Regions from separate parts of the Homo sapiens genome. Here region 1 is linked to region 2. Evidence: promoter capture Hi-C in 16 types of primary human blood cells and fetal thymus (Javierre and others, 2016). All regions are on one chromosome and are shown on one strand. Each heading gives the region's core, a stretch centred on a gene start or on the middle of the fragment in contact. The rest is flanking DNA. Distances are from core to core; before and after follow the strand shown. Region 1 overlaps SORL1 (sortilin related receptor 1). Region 2 holds the start of CRTAM (cytotoxic and regulatory T cell molecule).

What was found. The method cuts DNA at HindIII sites, captures the fragments that hold promoters and counts their contacts. A CHiCAGO score of 5 or more calls a contact.
Region 1: a contact is called between a fragment that was not itself captured here and the fragment with the promoter of CRTAM in region 2, in 1 of 17 cell types (naive CD8 T cells). The highest score is 6.2, in naive CD8 T cells.

What each region holds. Positions count from the first base shown.
Region 1 is chr11:121,453,918-121,458,288 of GRCh38, reverse strand. All of the region lies in intron 1 of SORL1 (sortilin related receptor 1), which reads right to left. Among named protein-coding and RNA genes, the nearest start is that of SORL1-AS1, 3.1 kb to the right of the region's middle. RefSeq lists a silencer at 3,965-4,014. The HindIII fragment of the contact is 6,202 bases long and covers 1-4,371 here.
Region 2 is chr11:122,835,119-122,840,083 of GRCh38, reverse strand. It overlaps CRTAM (cytotoxic and regulatory T cell molecule), which reads right to left and starts at 1,584. Exons shown (of 10, transcript NM_019604.4): 1 at 1,492-1,584. The coding sequence starts at 1,537. The HindIII fragment of the contact is 4,925 bases long and covers 1,227-4,965 here.

The sequences.
Region 1 (4,371 bases), core at 868-3,367, 1.4 Mb after region 2:
TGCCTTTCCCTGAATACATTTAGGCCAGCCATTTCCCTTATCAATAGATCAAAGAATGCAAACTCATTTTAATATTCACCTGAGCAAAACTTAATTAGGAAGGTAAACGAATGCTTTAAAAAAAAGACTACATAAATACATAGCAAAAGCAAATCGATTATTTTTTGGATTACCTGCTCTCCAGATTATGATAAGACTGCCCCCTGTGTCCCTCCATTACAGTGGGTGGAACAAAGCTGGCTCCAACTATCTCTGCCCTGGGATTCAACAATGACACTATGAAGATGGCTGTCATCTCTAAGGAGGAACAGACCAAAATCTGACAATGAAATGTTCCTACAACATCCACCTTTTGCCTTGGGATGTTCGTTGCTATAAGGATCTGCCTCGTGGATCCCAAGTCTCAAAGCAATTTATTAAGCATACCATTAACTTCATTTTACAGAACATAGAGAAAACATTCTCAGACAGAACACAAATTAAAACCAAGATCCATGATCACTGTATTCTGATGCTCTTACAAGCCTGGACTCCACATCTCAAGGGAACTGTGCTCCAGCATCTCTCCAAGTTACAAGGGGGCTACATCAGGCTGCTCTCCTGCTCTGCAAGAACGCTTGAAGTGAAAGGAGAATGAGGTTTTTCTCACCTGGCCTGGAAAAAAAGTAATCATCTATTTTATATTATGATACTTCAGGTAATTTTCTAACAATTCACCATCATAATATCACAAATATAATTTAGAGCTAAAGTTAATCTCATTATTCAGGATACCAGGGACTACAGGTAACAGGAAGCCATTTATAATTCAAGTTTCCAATTTTATGTACATACATGTTGTACATGCATAGACTGTTTCTGGAAAGATATACAAAAATATTGATAACAACGGATGCCACCCGGAAAGGAGCTCTGGGTGAACAGGGGGCATGAGAGGGAAGGAAATTTGTTACCACATACGCTTTTGTACAAATTTTGTTTTGTAAACGTGCATTACCTAATCAGACAGCTTTTTATTTCATCCCTCCAAATTCCGCCTCCTTACTCTTCTCACCAACCCCTTTCCTCCATTCCTTCCCCCTCGCAAAGCCTCCACCTTCTGTGCCTCTAACCATGCAAGCTATTTATGAACTAAAAGCGGCCAGAGACTGGGCACAGAGCTCCCTAAGAAAAGACGCCAAGTGGAACCAGGAAGAGCTTTTCAAGGTCACGTCCCTTATTGAGCCAACCCAAGGCCCCGAGCAACTCTTCAGCTACATAAAAGCCAACCTGAAGCAGCACATTCTTTGCCTTCTCATCTTATTCTGGAAGCACACAGGTCAAACATCCTAACTTCAGAATCAACCAGCCAATTCTTTCCCAAGCAAGTGTATCATGGAAGAATCTACTCAAAAGAGATCTAAAGCTGAACGGTATTCCACCCCCAAAGGAGGCCTTTTGTCCCAGGGCCTTGTGCTGTAATAGACACTTTATTTTCAGTCTCAAATCAGGACACTGAATACTCCCTGGCTTCTAAAATGTAGGAATTATGAAGAGAGAGCTTGTTGGAAGGAAAATAAACCTGTAAATCCTGTTAGGCTTTGTGCTTTATTCCAAAGGATTTTTCCCCAAAACAATACCATTAGCATAAACCAGAATGATAGCCCTAAAAGGGAGGATTCTGTAAAATAGAATCCAAGCTCTTCATTGAAAATAACTCCCATATAGCACAGGCAAATCAGGGCTCCACTATCTGTAGGCCATGCCGCTTGCATCCTCACTACCGAATGAGCCATCTCATTTTCACTATCCATGTGTGGGTTCACTGTATTCCTCCTTACAAATACATTTTATATAATGTGAATGTGCTTCCTACCCTCTGGGCCTCTCTTCTTCCAGGTGTGTGGCTGGTCCACAAATACTCATTAAGGGCCTCCCAAGTGCCAGGGAAACACAAGAGAACTTGATCCATGCCCTCAAGGAGCAAACAGGAAGATGAGACAGTTGAGCAATTCTAACACAAGGCAGTAAGTGCTGCCTCCAAGCTCAGAAGAAACTCTTCCCACCATAGCCTGAGAATACCAAGAGGTATTCCTTGGATGTTAAAGAATGGAATAAGAGCTTCCCAGGCAAGGACAAGAGTTGGGGAAGATCATTTCAGGCAGAGGAAAAAGCAGGTATGATGGCGCAGACAGACAGAGCTTATGAGAAATCAGGAGGAAATTCAGTGTGGCATGAATTAGGGAATCCCTCTTCTTGGACCTGGCCTTTAAGAAGGGGCTCAACTTCTAAACTTTGCCTTTTTTTTTTTTTTTTTTAGATGGAGTCTCACTCTGTCCCCCAGGCTGGAGTGCAATGGCGCGATCTCGGCTCACTGCAACCTCCGCCTCCGGGGTTCAAGCGATTCTCCTGCCTCAGCCTCTTGAGTAGCCAGGACTACAGGCATCTGCCACCACGCCCAGTGAATTTTTGTAGTTTTAGTAGAGACGGGGTTTCCCCATGTGGACCAGGCTGGTTTCGAACTCCTGACCTCAAGTGATCCACCCGCCTCGGCCTCCCACAGTGCTGGGATTACAGGCGTGAGCCTTGAACATGGGCAGAAAAGTCCTGATATCTGCCAGCAAATTATTTTCACCCCTACAATCACATTTCAGTATCATAAATGTGCCTTTAAGTAATCATGGCAGAAGCCGGTCTCCCCACCTTAGAGAAACTGAGGAGGAAAATGGTCAAAATAACCAAGCCTAGTTTACCCAAGACATTAGCGAAGCAGAGGAAAAAGGACCGACATTGACTCCAGCACAGGGCTCTTTCTCAGATGCAAGTATTCCCCTAGAAAGCCTTCCCTTCTCTTCTCCCTGAAGGTGGTGGCCTTAACATCGCCTCTAGGCCTGCTTCCTTCAGGCAGCTTCTGCTTCCAGCCCTAACCTGTGCTGCCAGTGTCCTCTTAACCTCACTCAAAGGTCAGAGGGCAAGAAGCTGGACAGTGTCTGAGCCCACCACCCCTTATCTCTCCATCTCCCATGCGCTGCATGTCACACAGCCCGTTATCACACCATTGTAGAGTTGTGGCTGGTTTCTTGTGACCATGTTTCCTGGTTCCCATCCTGGTACATTGACATGCCTGTATCTGCATCTGCTTGCTCTCCTCCTTAAATTGTAAATTTCCTAAAAGCAGGAATGAAATTTTATTCCCCAGCTCACTGCACCTCCATAGAACCACACTCAAGTCAAGCAGTACTGTTGGAAAACATCACCATTCCTTAGGTTTAAACGTTGAAGGGGAAAGTCGTGATTACAAAGTGGAACTTGGCTTAAGGCTAAAAGTAGGACCATATAATTTATTGTCACATCTTGACACTTTTGAGAGTGAAGGGGGTGCTATTCATAACCACCAGAGACAACTTAGAAACCAGGTCTGCCCCAGGGAAACACAGAGGCAATGGTCATCCTTGCTAGAAAGATCATTCCAAATAGATGTTAGTTACTCCAGAGTTCCAAGAGGGGCACCTCAAACCCCTTCAGTCACCAACCTGTGCTTGCATTCTGAAGGGTCTGCACCAGATAGAACTTGTGGCAGAAAGCCCAGTACAGGGAAGTTCTTCCTTTTATCTGACTCAAATCCTTACAGATTCAAATTAATTCCACTTCTTATTAACCTCAGAGCAAGAGGCAACAATGGCATAGGAAGGCAGCCACAGAGAAGAAAAATCTCACCCTTGTACCCTCACCCTCCGGTTAGGAATTCCTCATTATGAGTTTGACTGCTAGTTCTCCATCCTTCAGCTGAACCAAACTCAATCTGGCTGGCCCAGAAACTCAAAAGCCCAGGGTTTGGGAGTCACTCCCAGTGAGAACAGAGTTCATGTCCAACCTGCCCCACATCCCCTGGAGCTTTTCATAAACCAAACCCAAGAAAGAAATGGCACATGTACACATATTTTTGAAACCAGAAAACTTTTTCCTCAACCTAAACTATAGCTTCAGGGGACCTGAGCACTGGGAGGGATTGTCTCCCACCAGCCCCCAACTCCCAGTTCCCAGAATGCTGATTCAAGAGCACAGCAGAGCTGGGCTGACTGCGGAGGCCCAATGAAGAAGTGGGCCACTCCTCCTCCTTCTCCCACCCTCCATCAGCCCCATGCTGGTGTCGCTGTTAAGAGCAAGGACCTTGATGACTTCTTTTTGTTCATACACATATTTGTCATATGGGGTGGGGACAGGGGGACAAGGATCTGGGCCCAAGAGGAACTGAGCATGCAGGTTCCTGCAGCCTGTGGCCACCATTAGTTACATGCCCTGGGGCACACATTCTTGCCCAGGGACCAATAGTGGAGGGAAATCCAACGCTCCCACCCAGTCACCACCATCCTTTCCCCCTTTATACCAGAT
Region 2 (4,965 bases), core at 335-2,834:
GTTAAGGTCAGTGAAAGGCTTTAAACTCTGGAAAAATTGAAATCATCCTAATTTTAGCTGTCTAAATGTACTCTTTTTGAATGTATTAGCTATTCTTTAAGCCACTTAATGAAGAAACTAATATTATTCATTACCAAAATTGAATCCTTATTAAGTGCCTCAGGGTACAGGGACCAAAAAAAGAAGGCATTAATTGAAGTATATAAAATAGGGAATTGAAGTACTATGTAAAATAGGAAATCGAGTTTTTTAAAGTAGCGTCCTTCAGATGCCATTCCAGATTAAATGTAGATTTAGAAGGATAGGTGCATTTCATGAAACAGAACTACAGTTTCAATATTTGGTAACAAACACACAAAAAGCAAAATTTTTGAGTGGATTTGTGAGGGATGTCCTTTGCATGAATCTGATACAATTGTAAGCAGAGACTGAGGGACAACAGGAGCCACTTCCTACACCCCTGCCCCCACTTTTGGGTAGAAAATAATTTGACCTGCTCCAAAAAGGTAACTGCTTCTATCCTTAATTTTCATAATGCTACATTAGGATTAAGCACTAAAATCCAAATTTGAAAATTATAGTAAAATGTAAAGTATAACTTACTCTTTAAAAATAAACACGAAGTTTTCATTGGTCTCATTATTACCTCTGAGCTAAATAAGTGTTGCACAGCGCTTTATCATTTTCAAAGTGCTTTCACATTTGAAATTTGATCCTTCTAACAATCCAGGGAGTTTGGTGGATCAAAAGTTTTTATCATTTTCATTTTAAGATGCAGAAACTGAGTTTCAAAGAGATTAAATCGTTTGGCTAAGATTTATACAGCAAGGAAATTTTAAAATTCAACGTGGAGGCCGGGCGCGGTGGCTTACGCCTGTAATCCCAGCACTTTGGGAGGCTGAGGTGGGCAGATCACGAGGTCAGGAGATTGAGACCATCCTGGCTAACACGGTGAAACCCCGTCTCTACTAAAAATATAAAAAAATTAGCCGGGCGTGGTGGTGGCGGGCACCTGTAGTCCCAGCTACTTGGGAGGCTGAGGCAGGAGAAAGGCGTGAACCCGGGAGGCGGAGCTTGCAGTGAGCCGAGGTCGTGCCGCTGCACTCCAGCCTGGGCGACAGAGCGAGACTGTGTCTCATAAATAAATAAATAAATAAAATAAAATAAAATTCAATACGGATGCTCTTTCAACTGGTATGCCCTTAAAAGACAGAGCCTAATAAGCTTGTTTCATCTTGCCGTAACATAGGACCCACAGAGACACACACTATAATGATCCTTTCTATACTCCTTAGCCATTGAACGAGAGATCAAATAAACGCAGTAACATCCCTCAGATGCATGATTTGAGCATGGCTTGGAAAGTATTAGCAGTTACCTGGGTTGTCTTCTACAGCAGCTCCTCTGTAAATGCAGTTGACTGACTGATAGGTAGATGTGGCAAAACATTAAGTCAGCTGAGCAACAACAAAAATAACTCTAAGTCCTTACCTTGCAAGGGGAACCATGCCAGCAAGCTGAGAACTCTCCACCACATACTGTGCTGTGCTGCTGTGGCACCTTTGTCAACTTCCTCTAGATTCTGAGACAAATGGAGCTGAGTAGTTTCTTTTAAAGGGGGAGAGGCAGTAGATCTGTGACCTCATGTGTATCAACTCCTCCATCTGTCTGGAAGCCCCCTCTTAGTTAGCTGCCCCCAGAACACCTCCTGGTGGAACATTTTGGGGACCACATGTATTATCTTGATGGCAGAGAGGTGTGAGTGATGTGTTGGTGACAAAAATTGTTTTACCACAAGTGGGTAGTACTGGTAAATCAACTAGTTGCAAGGTTTTTAGAGGGAGCATGGGTGGGAGAAATACTGTAAAATGTCCCTGTGTAGTGACGTCATCCTTATTTTTACTTTTCTAGTTTATTAGATAAATACAATTAGATAATTTTTGCTCAACCTTTGGGAATATTTTATTTCTATGCTGACATCAATTTATAATTGTTGTCGGGGAGGAATTCATTCATTCATATAGATATACTCATTTTTGAAATCTATATATCTGTCCACCCACCCATCCACCCATCTTTTCATCCACCCACTCACAAATACAAATCTATTCATCCACCTATCCATCCATCCATCCTTCCATCCATCCACCCACACATCCATCCACCCATCCATTTATCCTTCCATCCACCCACTCACTCATGTATTACCTGCCCACTCATTCCCCATCCACCCATCCATCCATCTATTCATCCACACATCCATCCATCTCTCCATCCATCCAGCCAGCCAGCCATCCATCTATTTATCCATCCATCTATCCATCTATCCATCCATCCATCCATCCATCCATCCATCCATCCATCCATCCATCCATCCATTTATCCACCCATCCATCCATTCACCCATCCATCTATCCATCCATCCATCCGTCCATGACCTATTCATTCACCCACCCATCTATCTATACATGCAAATACTCATCCATCCACCCAACCACCCATCTATCTATCCACCCACGCATTCATCCATTCACCCACTCATTCATCCATTTACCCACCCATCTATCTATACATATGTCCGTCCGTCCATCCATCCATCCATCCATCCATCCATCCATCCTTCTATCCACCCATTCATCTTGTCACCTGTACAGCATCTAGTATGCACTACTTTGAGACATGCTCAAATAAAAAACATAAATTCCTTGTTTTTCAGGAGAATATAATCTAGTGGGGGAGACAATGTACATATGAACAGTTCTGGTATTTAATTTTCATTAATTGGACAAATTGAGATAGATTTAATGTAGTTTTTCCAGGAGCACACAGTAAAATATTAGTAAGTTTATGTTTAGAAAACAGAGATCAGTCTGCAATGCTTGGAAAATGAAAAGGAAACACTACTTACTGGCTCTAATTGAAATTAGTGTTAATACTCTGATAAATTTGATGAAGTTTGGGTAGGAAAAGTCTTACTCATCAAAAATGTCTTCCAAATATTTTGTTGGCTGGGCACAGTGGCTCATGCCTGTAATCTTAGCATTTTGGGAGGCTGAGGTGTGAGGATCATCTGAAGCCAGGAGTTCAAGACCAACCTGGGCAACATAGTGAGACCCCCATCTCTACAAAAAATACAAAAATTAGCTGAGCATGGTGGTGCATGCCTGTAGTCCCAGATACTTGGGAGGCTGAGGTGGAAGGGTTGCTTGAATGCAGGAGGTTGAGGCTGCGGTGAGCCGTGATCACACTACTGTACTGCAATCTGGGTGACAAAGTGACACCCTGTCTTAAAAAAATAAAAATAAAAAATCCTCCAAAACACAATATTTTGTCTTTCAAATTTTTCATTTTTTAATTTTTTCCCTTTTGCTCATAATATTCCATCCAGGAACTTCTAATTTTTATACTTGTCCTCAGTAGAAGAGAACAGTTTACCCAGGGTCACTCTTCCTCCATAGGGCATCCATGAGGGGGTCTCAAGGTCCTTTTCCCTTGCCTTGAGGTGGAGCAACTCTGAAGCTCCCCAAGGGATCAGGATCAGCTGAGATCTTTGTTGTAACTGCACCTCAGTCCAGCTTCTACCGATTCTCCAACTTGCTTCCTTCTTGTCACCAAGAGTACTCATCTATAAACTTCTGCACACGGATCTCTGTATCAGCTTCTGTTTCCCAGGAACCTGACCCACAACAACACTTGACATAGGTTGTCAACGAGTGAATGAAAGACTAAATTGACTCTTTATTTGAGATGTAAATGCTACTCTTTTTGCTCTGAAGTCTAAAAAGATGTTTGACTTACAATTTCCCCAGAGCATTAAAGAAGAGCTTACTTTAAATTGCACTTTGGACGATGGAGAGTGTATCCTTTTCATCCACGGGTGCCATATTCAACTGGTTGAAAACCTTGACAAATGTCACAATAGTCCACTGGACTTGGACATTAAGAACGGTTGGTGGGGGAAATGCTACAAGGTGAACTGGTGGACGACATACATGTGTGCTTTCCAGGGTCCCTGTTCTCATTACCCCCACTTCAGCCTGCAGCTCATGTAGTATTCAACAGGAGAGGGCAGCAGATTGTGGCTGCTCAGTGAATTGGGAGAAAAAGACGAGGTTGGAAGGTAATAAGTGGTCTACCTATTTTCTAATGGGAAAGAGTCTACTGAACAGTATGTGGGAGACCTCACAACTGATAGCTAGTTTGTCATTTTGGTCTCCGTTTTATGAAATCTTCATATTATGTTTCAATACTAATAGGAAATAACATTTGGTGGGGTGGCAGAGGGGGGACATATTTTGGAGAAATAAACAAACATCCTCTCTATTTTTCATCGTCACCCTTGTCAACCTGAGTTTTGGGGGTGGGGGGGTGCAAACATGAAAAATAAGACATTTATTAAATAGGCTAAAGATGAACTGTTTTAAGGGTCAGAAAACAGGGGATTTCCTTATGTCTAGAAGCCACTGGGTTTTTTTGTTGCATTTACAAAAGGGGCCTACACTTTCTTCTTGACCTTTCACAGATTCTGTGAAGAATCGTGACCTTTCCCAAGGTCAGAGTAAGAGGTGGACTCGCCTGCATCTACCAGAAGATGCCTCAGATAACTCACACCAAGTGTTGAGGTTTTCTGAGCACTGCTGTAAAACTTGCACAAAGTGACTGTGGAGTTTCTAAGCCAGAGCAGCAGCCTTTGAAATTAATTATTGATTCAGAGAGAAGTTTCCTAGCAGTAGTGGGAGCTTAGTGGGACGAGCATGGGAGTGAGTAGCAGACAGACCCAGGCTTGTCCCCTAGGCCCTGTCACTAGCAGCTGTGTAGCACTAAGCACACTACCTGCCTGTTGGAATCAGTTTCCTCACTTGTAAAATGGGAAGAATAATTACAGCCTGAGGTGACTGTCCAGGAATCATAAGGCAGGAGCTGAGAAAGTTCGACTGTAGCATTTTTAAAAATGAAGAATTGGCC